Regions from separate parts of the Homo sapiens genome. Here region 2 is linked to region 1. Evidence: promoter capture Hi-C in human tissues and cell types (Jung and others, 2019). All regions are on one chromosome and are shown on one strand. Each heading gives the region's core, a stretch centred on a gene start or on the middle of the fragment in contact. The rest is flanking DNA. Distances are from core to core; before and after follow the strand shown. Region 1 holds the start of A2M (alpha-2-macroglobulin). Region 2 overlaps LINC00987 (long intergenic non-protein coding RNA 987).

Evidence for each region. The method cuts DNA at HindIII sites, captures the fragments that hold promoters and counts their contacts. A contact is called where the count stands out against the background at its distance.
Region 2: a fragment that was not itself captured here is called in contact with the fragment with the promoter of A2M in region 1 in 1 of the 25 tissues and cell types used here (hippocampus).

The regions. Positions count from the first base shown.
Region 1 is chr12:9,114,488-9,117,205 of GRCh38, reverse strand. It overlaps A2M (alpha-2-macroglobulin), which reads left to right and starts at 1,287. Exons shown (of 36, transcript NM_000014.6): 1 at 1,287-1,442. The coding sequence starts at 1,357. It also overlaps a transcript of KLRG1 not described here. The HindIII fragment of the contact is 8,783 bases long and covers 487-2,718 here.
Region 2 is chr12:9,254,564-9,257,263 of GRCh38, reverse strand. It overlaps LINC00987 (long intergenic non-protein coding RNA 987), which reads right to left. Exons shown (of 7, transcript NR_137434.2): 5 at 1,572-1,705. It also overlaps the pseudogene A2MP1. Among named protein-coding and RNA genes, the nearest start is that of LINC00987, 16 kb to the right of the region's middle. The HindIII fragment of the contact is 4,482 bases long and covers 1-2,700 here.

The sequences.
Region 1 (2,718 bases), core at 38-2,537:
GAAGTATCAGAAAGGAATATTTCCTCCATACCAAATAGTTTTCATTTCATGCATGTGCCGTGATTCTTCTCCCTCCTTTGCATCTGTCATTCGTTATGCTTAGAAAGCTCTTTTCATCTCTTTGTTCTTCGAGACAACCACTACTCATACTTCAGAGCTTAATTTACATTTTGCTTTCCCTCAAAATTTTTTTAAAAGGTTCCAGGTCTGGGTTATGTGCTCTCTTATGTGCTCCCAGAGCATCCTGAACTTCTGCAATAATATGTTTGGCTACTGTATTTTATACAGTAGTTTTATATTGTATTTTATACTGTATTTTATACAGTAGGTGTTATATTGTATTTTATACAGTAGTTGTTTTTCTGTCTGTTTTTGCCCCAACAAGAATGTAAAATCTTTAAGTGCCTGTTTTCATACTTATTTGACCACCCTATCTCTAGAATCTTGCATGATGTCTAGCCCTAGTAGGATCAAAAAATACTTACAAAGCAACTGAATAGCTACATGAATAGATGGATGAATAAATGCATGGGTGGATGGATGGATTAATGAAATCATTTATATGACTTAAAGTTTGCAGAGGAGTATCATATTTGGAAGGCAGTAAGGAAGTCTGTGTAGTCGATGGTAAAGGCAATTGGGAAGTTTGTTAGGCACAATAGGTCAAAATTTGTTTTTGAAGTCCTGTTACTTCACGTTTCTTTGTTTCACTTTCTTAAAACAGGAAACTCTTTTCTATGATCATTCTTCCAGGGCCTGGCTCTTCATCTGCAACCCAGTAATATCCCTAATGTCAAAAAGCTACTGGTTTAATTCGTGCCATTTTCAAAGAGGACTACTGAATTCTGATGTGGCTTCAAACATTTAGGTTAGGCATATCTAATGGAGAACTTGCAGCCACACTGACTTGTAGTGAAATATCTATTTTGAGCCTGCCCAGTGTTGCTTAAATTGTAGTTTTCCTTGCCAGCTATTCATACAAGAGATGTGAGAAGCACCATAAAAGGCGTTGTGAGGAGTTGTGGGGGAGTGAGGGAGAGAAGAGGTTGAAAAGCTTATTAGCTGCTGTACGGTAAAAGTGAGCTCTTACGGGAATGGGAATGTAGTTTTAGCCCTCCAGGGATTCTATTTAGCCCGCCAGGAATTAACCTTGACTATAAATAGGCCATCAATGACCTTTCCAGAGAATGTTCAGAGACCTCAACTTTGTTTAGAGATCTTGTGTGGGTGGAACTTCCTGTTTGCACACAGAGCAGCATAAAGCCCAGTTGCTTTGGGAAGTGTTTGGGACCAGATGGATTGTAGGGAGTAGGGTACAATACAGTCTGTTCTCCTCCAGCTCCTTCTTTCTGCAACATGGGGAAGAACAAACTCCTTCATCCAAGTCTGGTTCTTCTCCTCTTGGTCCTCCTGCCCACAGACGCCTCAGTCTCTGGAAAACCGTGAGTTCCACACAGAGAGCGTGAAGCATGAACCTAGAGTCCTTCATTTATTGCAGATTTTTCTTTATATCATTCCTTTTTCTTTCCTATGATACTGTCATCTTCTTATCTCTAAGATTCCTTCCAGATTTTACAAATCTAGTTTACTCATTACTTGCTTACTTTTAATCATTCTTCCCCAACTCTCTGAAGCTCTAATATGCAAAGCCTTCCTAAGGGGTGTCAGAAATTTTTAGCTTTTTAAAAGAATAAATTTTAGATATTCACATTCATATTGATCTACTTGAGACCATGCTATTTATCTTTTCTTATTTCCTCTTTCTCAAGGGTCCATTTTCTATTTTATAAAAATAAAGACAATTCTCTCCCACAACCAAACATGGAACAATGCCCTGGAGTATAAAAATCTATAGAGTGCCAAATAAAGGAACAATTTGAAATACTGGTGTTGATATTGAAAAAGCAAGGGACTCTAATGTCAGAAGAGAAATCCTTTTGCAGATGAGGTGGTGATGAATTCTTTGTTTCAACACAACTGAAGGAGGAACTGAAGGAAATACCAGCTGATGAGTGATGAGAAGGGATTCTTGATAATAGAGTACTAGGTGATTTTTGGCATGTAATGCAGAAGTTGCAAGAAGTGGTAACAATGATGCAATTGTTTTACCTGCCATTTATTTACTTTTATGTGAGCCATTCTTCTTAGCACTTATAGCTACACAAAACAAAAATAGTAACAGAATTAATGTTGTTTAATTCTTGCAATCCATGGATGCATAAATTCACTGGGGGAAAAAACAGCTCATCATTCTCATTAAAGATGTGCTTCAAAAGTATTTTAATTTTATATCTAATATGTATGAATCATACTTTGTATTTATTTTGTTTTGATCAGTTATATACAAGTATTTTTGAACATAGCTCAGTCAGAAGGAAATGTTTAATATTTATAAATTTATGGTTACATTCTATTTAAAAGAGGAGTTAAAGTTAAATTTACCTACCCACATATGTTACATATATATGTATTTATGTATATGTATTCATATATGTATATATGTGAACATAAGTATACATACGTATATGTATAGATGCTTGACAATAAAGAAGTAAGAATAATTCACAACATTTTTTGAAATATAAAAATTTAGGATAAATTTCTGTATGGTAATTGGCATGGAAATTCAAATTCAAAAAGGAAAAAAGAAGAGAAAGATATTAAATATCAGACCATTAAAAGAATTTTTTAATGTACTTTTAAATAGTGATAGTAGGT
Region 2 (2,700 bases), core at 153-2,652, 140 kb before region 1:
ACACACAGAATTCTATTATAAAAATCAAAGGCTCACAAGGCTTTTTATGTGATTTGTATCTGTATCCCTGCTGTATTATAAATGGCCTGAAGGAAAAGACTGTTGCATTGTTTATATTGCCCTTACACACACAAGAATTATAACCAAACATGTCTAGAAGTTCTCTTTCTTCTCTCTTGACTCCTTTCTCAATAATATTTTTCAATTTAGAAATAGAGACAAGCATTAAATGTCTTTTTCCTACTTAAACAGAGGAAATGAACAATTAAACCTATATCTTTAAGGGAAAATGTCATTAGCTCAGCATATATTTATTGAACACTACTACCTGCACAGTGGTATAAAGTCTTTTCTTACTTCAGTGTGATCCAAATGTAAATAAAGTCTATAGTTGGAAATGCCTTTTTAAAAAATCAAATTGATAATTCTGTTGCTAATGTGTTATTCTGAACTTGTTCTTCTTTTTAAATTCTCCAGTGAAAGGGGTGTTTTCCTTCTCCTTTCGAGTGGAATCAGACTCTGCTCCTAGTGCTCATCTGCTTGTTTACACTGTTTTACCTAATGGAGAAATTGTTGCAGACACTGACAAGCTTGAGATTGAAAACTGTTTTGCCAACAAGGTGGGTTGTTTTGTTTAAGACTAGTCCTTTTATTCTTCTCCCATTGTGATGTGTGGAAAAGAAGGAAATTAGGAAATTAGGCATACAGTGCTCCTAAAACATTCCTCCCAGCTACTTCTAAAGGCAGGGGGTGATGTCATACTGAGAGGTCTAGTGCTGACATCCAAAACAGGCAACCACAAACACAGTTTTTTAAAAGTCTCTTGTTTTGTTATAAAATTCATATGAATTTCAAAATCAAGTCACCTATAAGCCTTTAATAGTTTTAATTTTAAAATGTTTTGTTACTAATATTTTGATTAAAAATGATGCCTCACAAGGCTGTGCCAATTTTACCCCATCATACACTGGCACACTTCCATGTACCACTACAGACAGCAGTAGGTTGTCATGAGTTTAAACTCAGCTTAATAATACAGAACAGATGAGAAACAGCCTGGACACTTTAAAAATAATGATAGCACAAAAATTTAACATAGGTTCAGATGGCATATTTTTTATTTAAGGAATACAAAGCTGCCATGTGAAGCTCACTGAGATATAAGTATGCTTTATTCCAACAGAACTTGGTGCTGTTTATCTGATTTTCACTACTCTAGCAGCATAATCATAACATTAGCGATCAGATAAGAGCCGCCTACTTCAGATGCCTGTTTTCAAATACACCTGGAAGGATTTTTTTTTTAACATGGGCTTTGTGGAGATTAAAACAAAATGTGTTTATAGCAAGTGAACATTTCTGCCCTGAGATCTATATTTAGGTTGTCTTGTTTTAAATATACAGTGAAATAAGAAAAATACACAGTGTATTCTGATGTAAACCTTTAATTCCACCTTACTAAAGAGTGCTATTAAACCTGGATGGTGTGTCCAAGAAGCTTAGTGTCTGTTCTGTTTGGACTTCTGTGTGTTTCATACCCACTGAGAAGAGACTCCTTCATGCTTCAATACCTTTACTGTTAATGATGGGTAGTTAGTTTGTTGTTAAATCTTGGGAATGGCCAAGTTATGCTCCGGCTTTCAGCACATCTTATTCGTTCTAGCAGTGGGGTCTCTTTCTGGTGGGTCAGTATCCTCTTCACACCCTAGAAATGAGAGAAGCATTATAAAACAGAATTGGCAGAAAAGTAATTTTCTCCCTGGAATCCAGTCTGAAAAACAATTCTGATTTTGCAAAACATATGACAGTCCCTGTGCAACAGTATAAAACTTCACCATAGAAGTAAAAGCCCACGGACATTATATTCAATCACTTCACGTTAAATACCTTTAAAATCATCATTGATCAGAATTGAAGATCAGCTGTAAAAAATAATATGAACAAAGATTCATAAGAAGATTCAGAAGAAAGTTGACTACCACAAAAATTAGAAAAACAGTAGATCTATTAAAATTACAAATTAAGCACCCTAAAAGTTAGACATCTTGGTGGGATGATGAGCAAATAAATAGTGCACTGAGGATGTGAGGAAAGACCCCAAGTCAGACATGCATCCCTGCAAAACGATACATTTAAATTTTTTTCAATCTTTGCTGAGACAGAGAAAAATAGTTTTCTATTCAAACTTCATATACTTATTTCTTCACTTACAACAGATTTGGCATACACATTAAAAATTATGTAATAGTTGGAATCATTTGTTATACTCAACCAGATATAATTATTCATTAAGAATAACATTGGTAGTAATTAATATAATATATGAGGTACAGACTCCTTTGAAATATGCCTTAAAGTTATGTTTTGGTTTTCATATCAGTAAAACATTTTCTATTTTCTAACATGTCCACTTCTTGCTAATAGTGTTTTTAGTTTATTATAATCCCAAATTACCTGTTCTTTTGACATGGACAGTAACTAACATATTTTAATGAACTTAAATTTTCTAAAAATAAAAGCAAATATATTTTAAAGAGATTCTCCATAAGCAATGTTTTCATAGTATATTGAGTTAGAAAGATGAATACTATTGCATCTTGAAGATAAATAATTATTGATTTTTTTCATATATGTCTTATGATAAGTGATTCCAAACTGCTATATTAAATTCAGTAGACCATAAAGCTGGATTGTCATAGT